Linked DNA regions of Homo sapiens: region 1 is linked to region 2. Evidence: promoter capture Hi-C in 16 types of primary human blood cells and fetal thymus (Javierre and others, 2016). All regions are on one chromosome and are shown on one strand. The core of a region is centred on a gene start or on the middle of the fragment in contact, and the rest is flanking DNA. Distances in the headings are between cores, read along the strand shown.

Evidence for each region. Contacts are between HindIII fragments. The CHiCAGO score rates a contact against its expected background, and 5 or more counts as called.
Region 1: a contact is called between the fragment with the promoter of MAP3K19 here and a fragment that was not itself captured in region 2, in 2 of 17 cell types (naive CD4 T cells and fetal thymus). The highest score is 5.6, in naive CD4 T cells.

What each region holds. Positions count from the first base shown.
Region 1 is chr2:135,043,062-135,049,571 of GRCh38, reverse strand. MAP3K19 (mitogen-activated protein kinase kinase kinase 19) reads left to right here and starts at 2,125. Exons shown (of 13, transcript NM_025052.5): 1 at 2,125-2,387. The HindIII fragment of the contact is 2,914 bases long and covers 1,713-4,626 here.
Region 2 is chr2:135,555,215-135,561,536 of GRCh38, reverse strand. All of the region lies in intron 1 of R3HDM1 (R3H domain containing 1), which reads right to left. Among named protein-coding and RNA genes, the nearest start is that of R3HDM1, 27 kb to the right of the region's middle. The HindIII fragment of the contact is 9,576 bases long and covers 108-6,322 here.

The DNA.
Region 1 (6,510 bases), core at 876-3,375, 510 kb after region 2:
GCTGGAGTGAAGTGGCATGATCATAGCTCACTGCAGCCTCAAACTCTTGGACTCAACCAATCCTCCTGCCTCAGACTCCTGAGTAGCTGAAACTACAGGTGCCCACCACCACGTCCAGCAATTTTTTCTATTTTTTGCAGAGACATGGTCTCACTATGTTGCTCAGGCTGGTCTCAAACAACTAAGCTCAAGCAATCCTCCTACCTTGGCCTCCCAAAGTGCTGGGATTACAGGCGTGAGCCACTGCGCATAGCCAGAAGATTACATTTTTTGGGGGGGGTGGGAACGGAGTCTTGCTCACTCTGTCACCCAGGCTGGAGTGCAGTGGCACAATCCCGACTCACTGTAACCTCCGCCTCCTGGGTTCAAAGCAATTCTGCCTCAGCCTCCCGAGTAGCTGGGATTACAGGCACTAGCCACCACACCCGGCTAATTTTTTTTTTTGAGATGGAGTCTTGCTCAGTCGCCCAGGCTGGAGTGCAGTGGTGCGATCTCGGCTCACTGCAAGCTCCGCCTCCCAGGTTCACGCCATTATCCTGACTCAGCCTCCCGAGTAGCTGGGACTACAGGCGCCTGCCACCACACCCGGTTATTTTTTTTGTATTTTCAGTAGAGACGGGGTTTCACCGTGTTAGCCAAGATGGTCTCGAACTCCTGACCTCGTGATCCACCCACCTCAGCCTCCCAAAGTGCTGGGATTACAGGTGTGAGCCACCACGCCTGGCCTAATTTTTTTATTTTTGGTAGAGATGGGGTTTCACCATGTTGGCCAGGCTGGTCTGGAACTCCTGACCTAAGGTGATCCACCCACCTCAACCTCCCAGAGTGCTAGGATTACAGGTGTGAGCCACCACATCTGGCCAGGATTACTTTTTGAGAAGCCAATTTAAAGATTCATGGATTGCAGACAAGCTGGAACCCTAGGATAACCTGGCAGAAATCCTAAAAGTCAGAAACTACGGTACTTGCACCTTCCTCTGTTAGGCTGAGAGAGTACTCACCTTGATGGGAGTAGAAGCAAAGTAGAGCATAGGAAGCAAAACAGAGTAATAGCCTGTGTGTGCTTAAATTGGTGTCAAGCAGCTTGAAGTTGAATTGGTAATGAGGGAGTTTACGTAGATCTAACAATCTCTGAATGGTTTTTACCCTGAAGTCTTCATCCACTAAAGGAGAGAGAGAGAGAGAGAGAGAGAGAGAGTGTGTGTGTGTGTGTGTGTGTGTACGTGCTTGCGCATGGTAAAGGTAGTATTGCAACATTGTGGCCAGGCCGCTTAGGTTCAATCCCTAGCTCCACCATTCATTAGCTCAAAAGTTCTAAGCCTCAGTGTCATCTTCTGTAACGTGGCAATGATGCTGTTTATTGTTTCAACTCCATAGAGTTGTTATGAGGGTTAAATGACATTAATCATGTCCTTTATGGACTAACGTAGGAACTAGTCAATAAATGTCAGCTGTTGTTATTGCGATAGAATATCGTACCCCATTCAGTTGAGAATATATAATGTTACGCCCTACCTTAGAAGAGAAACCCCTGCATCCTTTGGTAAGTGGCAGAAAAGAATTTAGCAGCACACAAATGCCGGGTGACCTTATGGAGTGCCCTGTGTCCACTTCCTCATGATTATGTTTTCATAGTCCATGATTTGAAGTCTTTTGCAGTTGGGTTTATTACCACTGGACTCAGACAAAAATGCAGTCTGTTTACTGAAGCTTTTGCTTCAGAATATCACAAGCATATCTAGAGAAGAAGTATGTTGTAATGTAAGGATTTCTGTCTGCTAGCGCTTTCTCAAGGCTGAGTCTAAGAATGCAATCAGTTTGGTGGTAATCGATTGGATTCTCACTCTGTGACCTATATGCAGCTTTGAAAGGGGCCCTTCTGGCACCTTGTGGGGATTACAAAGGCATGGATCTCTTAGAGAAAGTCTCAGTGCATCAGGTGATCACAGTAATTGTGCCAACCATGGAAGTACATAGGGGTTTGGTAGTTTTAAAGCACTTAAGCAACAACTTGGAAGAGCATACAAAACTTGTTTTCCTTCCTGGATGAGACTGTCCTGCTTTCAATTCTCTAAGCTAAATGCACAGTGGATGGTTGCCTAGGAGACAACCTGTAAACTAAGCAGTCTATTTGCAGCTAACTAAAGGGTTTGTGCATGCAGGACCAGCTTAATTAAAGACAAAATTTAAAAGGAAAAATTATTTGGGCTGTACAACACTGAAAAAAAAATCTGAATCTATGCTGTTTTTAAATGGATCCCTGGTTGAAGTGTGGGTTACAGCTGTCCCAGAAATCAGTGCCACAATGAATTAGGATGATGTTGGCTACTGTTTGGCTTGGTGTTTCTTCAACTGTGTGCCACGTCCCTCAGCAAAACACAGCACAGGTAAGCCGAATCTCTGCTTTTCATCTCATTTTAGATAAACTGTATGTTGCAACTTTTTTACTCCCCAAAGGATGTCCCAGAGGAGGAATGCCTGGTAAACTGATAGAAGAAACTGTGTCCTAATCTCAAATAATAATATCCTTGGAGTTGTAATAAACTATTTTTTACTTTTCAAATATTGTGACGATTTCCTCCAATACTTATGCAGGCACCTCTAGACCATAGGCTAAATTACTAATGACAAGAAAAGTGTATGAAAAACACTTGCCTTCATTGAATTATACCTAGGGGTAATCTTTTAGTTTAATCACCCAAATATGTGTAAACTTTACATGGTATGAATCTTCTTGTAACCAATCAATATTGTATACATATGTTCTTAACCATGCTTTCTCAACATGAAATGAGATTTCTGTTGCTTTAAATCTTTATTGCATAAGGTTCTAAATCAAATGTACACTATAACAAAAGGTTTTGGTTTTACAAATAGATAAACCATGCATGCAATTAAAAATAAAAAAGACTGGGTTTTAATAGATGCTAAACTAAAAACCTCTGTGGAATGAAACACTATTCCTCAAAAATCATTGACCAAAACAGTTCTAAATGGGGCGGGCATGGTGGCTCATGCCCGTAATCCTAGCACTTTGGGAGGCCAAGGAGGGTGGATGACCTGAGGTCAGGAGTTCGAGACCAGCCTGCCCAACATGGTGAAACCCTGTCTCTACTAAAATACAAAAATTAGCCGGCAAGGTGGCAGGTGCCTGTAATCCCAGCTACTTGGGAGGCTGAGGCAGGAGAATTGTTTGAACCTAGGAGGCGGAGGTTGCAGTGAACCGAGATTGTGCCACTGTACTCCAGTCTGGGCGATAGAGGGAGACTCTGTAACAACAACAACAACAACAATAACAACAACAATTCTAAATGGAAAATTGAGAAATATTTTCTTATGAAAAAAACCTAAAATGGACATGTACAGATTGAAGGTTGGAAGAGGAAATAGAGCTCAATAATAAAAAGCACTGTGGGTTTGTGACTAAGCCTGGGCAACATAGTGAGACTCTGTCTCTACAAAAATAAAACATAAAAATAACTAGCGGGGCATAGTGCTGTGCACCTGTAGCCCTAGTTATCTGGGAGGCTGAGGTGGGAGGATCCCTTAAACCTAGGAGTTTGAGGCTGCAGTGAGCTATGATCAAGCTGCTGTACTCCAGCCTGGATGAGAGAGTGAGACCCCATCTCTAATAAAAATAATTTTTAAAAGCCATGGTCTGTGCATGTTAACTAAAAGAATGACCTGCATATAGGGATAATGCTATGTGCTCATTCCATCTTCATTGTCTTCCTCCAGTCTCTATTGAGTATGTGAGACAATAAATGGCCAAATAATGACCACATTACCCGGTATTGCAGTGATTTGATTTGATAATTTTGGGATTGTAGTTTAGTTAAATCTAAATTTTTTTGTTTTATTTTAGATGATAGATACTACTTATGAAATGCTCTCCCTTAAGGGTCACATTAAAAAGTTAAATTACAACTCCATAACATTGCTAGGTAATAACCTTGGGGGAAAAATGTTTGAAGTTTTATTAGTACTTTATGAATAAAGTGTGATATAAATATCTATTTCTTGCCTAGTTGTTATTTGAATATCTGATTTTTAGCTTTATTGAAAGACAAGTTTTAATTATCCTTTGTTTCGGAAAACCTTTTTTCCCCCTGAAATGATCCTGCAAATACTGTTGCATTTTCAAAAACAAGTATGTAAATCTAAGTTACAAAGCAATTTACTGGGACAGATGTGTGTATTGGTTTTAATTATTTCTGTGTCCTGATTTTGAGTATATCATCTGCCCCTTCCGCCCTTAGTAAGGTTCCAAGTACACTGCTTATTAAATGCTAATGATTAAGATAATGATGATTAAGTGACAGCAATCAACTAAACGTCTGCTTCTCTTAAAAGAGCTTAAAGAAAACTGTTAGGCATTACTGGTGGGAGTGTAAATTGATACAGCCATTCTGGAGGACAATCTGGCAGTACTTTGTGAAATTAAATCCATTCGACCCACTTGCCCCAGAGAAACGTTTACAGGGTGCATAATAAGGTCCAAACAAGGATGTTTATCACAGTGTTGTTTGTGGAGTGGACAACTTAGATGTCCATCACTAAGGGAGTAATAAAATACGGTGAACATAAAACCAAAAACCTTGTACATATAAGTACAAGGATAAAGCTTAAAAAGCAAAGTGTTAACAAATAATTAACAAGATCTAGAGTACAATATTATTTGTGTAAATTAAAAACCAATGTAATATAACAGCACTACATGCCTTATAAGGATATACACTTATTGAGGATACCTCTCAGGCACATTAGATTGGGTTCTTATCAGGCAGAGGGGATCAGAGCTGAAGGGAAAAAATAAAACAAGAGGAAAGCCTGACACCATCCAGTGTGGCTAGCAAGGAGTAATGATGAGCTCATCCCCATCTAGCTAAGGTCCAAACATGAAAACGGAAATAAGACTATTCTGCAAATGTGCCTTTAAATACTAGTTCCATTACATCTTTTTTGTTGTCATTGTTTGTTTGAGATGGAGTTTCACTCTTGTTGCCCAGGCTGGAGTGCAATGGTGCAATCTCAGCTCACTGCAACCTCTGCCTCCCAGGTTCAAGTGATTCTCCTGCCTCAGCCTCCCAAGTAGCTTGTATTACAGGCATGCACCACCATGCCTGGCTAATTTTGTATTTTTAGTACAGATGGGGTTTCACCACGTTGGCCAAGTTGGTCTCGAACTCCTGACCTCGGGTGATCCACCCACATCGGCCTCCCAAAGTGCTGGGATTACAAGTATGAGCCACTGCGCCTGGCTCCATTACATCTTTTTGGGCAGTAGCACTCTCATCTCTCTGGAGTGAGATACCATTTTGCCAATGTCTGTGCTTCATTTTCCTCATCTATAGAATAGGGATAATAATACAACTGTTCTGATGGTGTTATTTGGAATTAAATAGAACAAACACCTGTAAACCATTTAGAAAAGCATATGACACGTAGCAAGCATTCAATAAATGTTGGGCATGATTGCTGTTGTTGTATTATTGTTATTATTATGTAACTTCACTTTGAACAAAGGTAGATAAAGACTTGAGGAATTCATTCACTATTTCAAAGTATTCTGCTAGAAATTTGAAGGGGAAACTAATATCTATTCTAGCAAGTTTAAATCAAAAGGAGTAACAGGTAGTAATGATAAATGTCAATTAGAAAACAAAGTGGATTGCAAGAAAGATTGTGGATTCAATTCTAATCACAAGATCTGTGTTTCTAGAAGTTGCCTTTTAATGTGGCAACTGATTGGGAGCCTCCCAGAGAAATAAAAAGATCACCAGTTGCCCAGGGTTAGTGAGGAGGGAGGAATGAATGGGCAGAACACAGGGGAGTTTTAGGGCCATGGAACTATTCTGTACCTTCTAAAATGGTGGATGCATGTCATTATACCTTTGTCCTAACCCATAGAATGTACAACACCAAGAGTGAACCCTAATTTACACTATGGACTTTGGGTGATAATACTGTTTGTAAGTTCATCTATTGTTAACAAATGTACTACTCTGGTGCAGGCTGTTGATGGCGAGGCCAGTAGGGGGCAGTGGAGAGGGAATATTCTGTACTTTCTGCCCAATTTTGCATAAAAAACTTAAAACTGCTCTAAGTAATAAAGTCAATTTTTAAAAGTCTATTAAAAATCTCTTTCAAAGAAAGAGAGTCGCCAGGCTCATCCCAGATCTACTAAAGGAAACTTGGAATCTTTATAACAAGGAAATGTTTATGTTCAAGCAAGTTCAGGAAACTGCACTGAGCTAAGGCCACCATTTCTTTGAAAGCCAAGAACACCAACCACACACACTTGTTTACATACTGGCTCTGCTGCTGACCTCATCTATTGTCTTTCTGTAAAAGGAATCACCTGCCCAGTAGTGGGTCCTCCCTTAGTTCCTGGACCCCAACCTCTTGGACCTTTTCATTGTCTATGGTCAATCAGTCACAAATCCTGTGAACCCTCACATTCAAATTTTGTTGTTGTTATTGTTTTTTGAGATGGAGTCTCGCTCTGTT
Region 2 (6,322 bases), core at 3,646-6,145:
CCATGTTGCCCAGACTGGTCATGAACTCCTGTGCTCAAGTGATCCGCCTGCCTTGGCCTACCAAAGCGCTGGGATTTCAAGTGTGAGCCACCACGTCCCACCAAGCTTAACATTTTTTAAAATGTCATTTGCTATTTTATTCTGTTTTCTCCACGTTAACAGACCAGGGAGACCTGAAAACTATCTTTGGATAATGAAAAGCTGCCACAAAATATAAAACTTATCCGAAGGCAAAATTGGAACCAACAGATAAAATGTAATCAGGACTTTGGCTCACTAAAAAGAGAAAAATTTGTTACAAAGTTGTCCATCAATGGAACAGGTCATCTCACAGAATGTACAGTGCAGAGATTCCTGGTATCAGAAGCATTCTTTAGAAATCTGACGGAGTCAGACAGTTAGATGAGATCACCTGTGATCTAGTAAGTCAAGTAATGCTGTGATAATTAACCCTTAAAACTTACTGGATTAACAGAAAGACTTTTGTCTTGGTTGTACCATACATTTGTTACCACTCAGGTGACAAGCACAGAAGTTAGTAAACTAGGGCCTGTGGCCTGTTTCTGTATGTCCCTTGCACTAAGAACAACTTTTATATTTATATTTATTATCTGCCTTCCATGTCATACTCAGAGACTCAGGATGCTTTAAGTTTGGGGTTCCTGGCTTCTTTCTGTAAGTGGCTCTGCCATCTTAACATACAGCCTCCACGACAGTCTCTCCTCACACTCCAGAATGAGTCACCTGGTACCACCTAAGTGCAACGGGACTGGGAAGTGTACTGTTCCAGATGCCCAGAAAGCATAACTGAGTACAGATAAGCACCTCAAGTCTCTACCACAACTTGTATATTTTTTATTCTTATCCAAAGATTCTATGATTCTAAATATTTCAACTATAATTTTCATTTTTAGTGAAATGGTTTAAATGAAAGATTCAGAAAGAGCCTGTAATCCCAGCACTTTGGGAAGCTGAGGTGGGCGGATCACGAGGTCAGGAGATTGAGACCATCCTGGTCAACGTGGTGAAACCCCGTCTCTACTAAAAATACAAAAATTAGCCGGATGTGGTGGTGCATGCCTGTAGTCCCAGCTACTCGCGAGGCTGAGGTGGGAGAATCACTTGAACCTGGGAGGCCGTTTGCAGTGAGCCGAGACAGCGCCACTGCACTCCAGCCTGAAAAAAGATTCAGAAAGAAATGTGTCAAAATATCATAGATTGTGGTAAAGTAAAAATGCTTCATGTTTGAGTTAGAACTGAGACAAAGGGAATCTAAGTATCACCTGCAGCATGTTTAAATTCTTTGGTTTACACAGCCTTCAATTTTTAGTATGCTCACAATGTTACTAATAAATCCTAAGAACTTGAAATTTTAAACATTAAGTGGTTTAGAGTGGAAAAATCAATAGGTCCTGCAGAATAATATATACATGCGCCAACTTTGTAAACAAAGACCAAGTGATTTCCATGCCATCACTGCAGGGAAAATTTGTCATTTGGTCATTTCAAAATCTCAGCCCTCTCACTGAATTGATTTAGTAAGTTATGGAACAGATGCGAACTGAATTATACATGATGATAGTGAAATATTTAAAACTTTTGTTCAACTCTATCTACTGCGCATAGCATAAATTAAGAGTGTATCTCTTTTTCCTTTTATTTAGTAAGTGAATGTTTCATTACTTAGATGAATTTATTACTGAGAGAAAGCTATAGTCAGCTCCACATTCCAAAAACATAAAGAGCTCTGCCAGGGCATACTTCAAACATTCATGGAGATAGACAGTTCCTTCAATCAACTAGTGATAAGAGACAACCAACTACTAAACAAGTGTCTAAAATACTGAATTACAGACAGTAGTAAATAGTTGGATCCTACTGCAGGAAGGAGGGAAATGAGATGGTCCAAGGGGCTCAGCCCAAGTATCTAATAATTGATAATACAGAGATTAAGGCATATAAATATACTTCTAGCCAAGGGTTGATATTTTAAAAGGCACAAAAATAGTATAAATTAGAAGAAATGCAGGATGGACCTGGTGATTTTCTACCATCCCAAAATATCTCAGGGGACAAAATAACAATCTAGCAAGGAATGCAAGAAGGTAATATATTTTGTGGGCCAAGTATGGTGACTCATGCCTGTAATCCCAGCACTTTGGGAAGGTGAGGTGGGAGGATTGCTTGAGCCCCGGAATTTGAGACTAGCCTGGGCAACATGGTAAGACCCTATTTCTACAAAAAAAATGTTTTTTAAATTAGCTGGATGTGGTGGCATGTGCCTGTAGTCCCAGCTGTGTGGGAGGCTGACACAGGAGGATCACTTGAGCCCAGAAGGTCGAGACTGCAGTGAGTCGTGATCATGCCACTGCACTCTAGCCTGGGAGACCAAGCGAGGCCCTGTCTCCGACAACAACAACAAAACCACACACACACACGCATGCACACACACACACACACACACACACACACACACACACACACACTTTGTGGAATCATAAATACCACTGATAAGGTATTTTAGTTTTAAGTTTTTGTAAAACAATTTTAAAGTTAAGACAGGCTAAAAAGTAGTAACCCTTTAAACTTTTTAAATTACATTTTGACTTTCAGAGAAGAAAACCCTTAAGGAATCCTAAAAGGAAGATGATTATCATTTTAAAAGTTTAAAAACACATTTAACCACCTTAGAAACAAAATACTGACCAAATCACCATGAAATATGTACAGAAACCTTTGTTTGATAAAAATTTTAAATTGCCAAGACAGTACTGAAATGTTCATCCCTAAATCTCCCCAAACTACATATTCTGTACTCAGTCCATAATAATATACACATTAATAAACTGTTCAACTGCTACAGCTCCAAAGATGTTCAATAAAATTTTTAACTGTTGGATTACTGGCTACTCATTTCTTTAGCTCCCATTCTAAGGTAGTGATATAACAATGACAATAAAGACTAACACTTAAATGCTAAATGCTAGGTGAGTGCCAGGCACATTTACATGGATTAAGTCAATTAATCCTTAAAATAACCCACTAAGGTTATTTATTATAAGATATTTACTCTCATTTTACAAATGGGAAAACAACAGCAAGCAAGGTTTGTAAAACTCCCCAATATCTTAAATTAAATATAGGAGGCAGGATATTGATCAAGTTGTTCCAAATTTAGATAGTTGTGCTGTCTAATAAGGTAGCTACCAGCCACATACAGCTGTTCAGTACTAAATATAATTAAAAATTCAGTTCTTTAGTTACACTAGACACATTTCAACTGCTCAGCAGGCATATATGGCTAGTGGCCACCATGTTGAGCAGTGCAGATACGAAACAATTCCATCACTGTATACAACTCTATTGGATGGTACCAATGTGTGAAAACTGATGTTTTCGTATCAGCTGCTTATGATGTGTGCTTAAAGAATTGGCATTACACTTGAACCAATTAATCTATAACTCGATATTTCTAATGTTTTATTACTTTTAGCCCCATTATCATTTATCATTATCCACTGTATCTCTTAAAATACGTACTTCTCTAGCACTGTGGGCTCCATGCAACTCAAAGAATTACATAGTTTTAATGTATTCTAAGATCTGATGTCATTCCTTTGTACATGGGCCCATGTTTTTTGTTCAATGTATACTAACTACACTTACTAGCCTCTATTATTTTTGTCTCTTGAATACCTTGTTCCTCCACCTCTCCTGGTAATAATATCACTCAATGTCAGCAGCCTTGCCTGGCAGTTAAGTTCCACTTCCAGCCCCAGGAGTGAGAACATGACCTAGACATGAACTATACTCCAGTCCCTGGCCACAGTTCAATGTTGAACATGTGACTTAAGCTGGGTCATTCAGAATATGCCATATGATCATCCTTGCCACTGGCTCACTGCTATCGGGATCAAGAGCCATAAGGACCAAGTAAGTCAGGATTTATAGTAACCAATTTTTCCTGGCAACATGAAAGAAGCTGTCTACAGAATACCTGTGGAGAAGAAATAAGACTCGGATTACACCATCTGAGACCTGAACCTGGCTGCCTCTTAACTTCTGGACCTGGCATTCGATGAGTTTAGTAAATTCTCTGACTCCTGTTTTGTTGAGTTTGTATGCTTTGGATTTGTATCACTTACAATTTAAAGTGCAGGAGTAGAATAATCAGAGATAAAGAGTTTCAAGACCCTTGTTATAGTATGGGAAGAAAAAGATACAAAGGATATACTTACGTTAAATATGGACAGTAAAAAGGAAAAAAAAAGTAAAATTAGTAGAGGAAAAAAAGAGCAATAAACTAACAACAAAATACTTCCTTAAGGTTACTAAATTGCTAATTACCACCGTAGAGTAAGTAGAACCACAAGGGCACTTGTCCTAGAATTCTAGATCTGGATCTTCATAGAGGTTTAAAAGTCACTGATTAAGAAAGAAAAAAGGCAGTAAGATCCCACATTTCAGTCTTCATCTTATGCTCTTCAATCTTTAAAGAGCAGTACCTTTCTTACAAGTAAAGCTAAAAATATTTCTAAAATAAGCAAGATCAGTGAAGAATTCTTTGGGTTTAAAAAAAAAGGATGCTAGAGCAATATGATCTAGGTAAACAGGTAGCTGATAAAGTTGTAAGACCTAGAGAATCTAAGCAGAGGAATTTTAATAGTTTTTTTTTTCTATATGAATTCTAGTAAGTGTTGCTTCAAAATGACAGTTTTGGGCTAGGCCCGGTGGCTCATGCCTGTAATCCCAGCACTTTGGGAGGCCGAGGCGGGCAGATCAAGAGGTCAGGAGATTGAGACCATCCTGGCTAACACGGTGAAACCCTGTCTCTACTAAAAATACAAAAAATTAGCCGGGTGTGGTGGTGGGTGCTTGTAGTCCCAGCTACTCGTGAGGCTGAGGCAGGAGAATGGCGTGAACCCGGGAGTCAGGGCTTGTAGTGAGCCAAGATTGCGCCACTGCACTCCAGCCTGGGGGACAGAGCGAGACTCCATCTCAAAAAAAAAAAAAAAGTCTGACATAGCACATGCATAATAAATGATCAATCAACTGCTACTCTTAAACACAGATTACCAGGTCTAGTTGATTTTTTCATTTTTTGATCATATATGTTCTAGTGTTTTCAAAAAACCACTCTACTGAGATATTATTCACATACCATACAATGGCATATTACTACCGAATGGTATAAAAGCCATTAAATGGCTTTTGTATATTCGGAGTAGTGTGACCCTCACTACAATCAATTTTAGAACATTTTTATTACCACAAAAAACAACCCCACTGCTCTTAGTCATCACCTGCTAATCCCCTCCATTCTCCCAGCCCAAGGCAACCACTAATTTACTTTGTGTCTCTATAGATTTGCCTATTCTGGACATTTTGTATGCCTGGAATCATACAGTACATGGTCCTTTGTAACTGTCTTCTTTTACTTAGCATGTTTTCAAGGTTCATTCACATTGGAACATGTGTCAACACTTCATTCCTTCCCTTCCCTCCCCCCATCCCCCCACTTGGGACAGGGTCTTGTTCCACTGCACAGGTTGGAGTACAGTGGCAAGATCATGGCTCACTGCAGCCTCAACCTCCTGGGCTAAAGTGATCTTCCTGCCTCAGCTTCCCACGTAGCTGGGACCACAAATGTATGCCACCATGCCCAGCTAATTTTTTTAATTTCTGTAGAAATTATGTTGCCCCAGCTGATCTCAAATTCCTGGACACAAGGGATCCTCCCGCCTTGGCATCTCAAAGTGCTAGGATTACAGATATGAGCCACTCGCCTGGCCCTTCATTGCTTCGTATTGTCATACAATGTTCTACTGCATGGATATTACATTTTGCTTATCCATTCATCAGTTGACGGACATTTGGGTTGTTTCTACTTTTTCACTACGATAAATAGTGCTGCTATAAACGTTGGTGTACAGTTTTGTTTGGTCATATTTTCATTTCCCTTGGTTATATACCTAGGAGTGGAATTCCTGGGTCACAGGGTAACTCATGTTTACTTATTTAAGTGTTTAACAAATTGAGGAACTTCCAGACTCACCAAAATGACCACACCCTTTACACTCCTACTGGCAGTATATGAGGATTCCAATTTGTCTACATCCTTTTCAACTGTTGTTATTATCTGATTTTTGTAATTATAGACACAAAGGTATCTCACTATGGCTTTGATTTGTATTTCCGTCAGGACAGATGACATCTATTTTACTTTTTTTTTTTTTTTTTGAGACAAGAGTCTTGCTCTGTCACCAGGCTGGAGTGCAGTGGCTCGATCTCGGCTCACTACAATCTCCACCTCCTGGGTTCA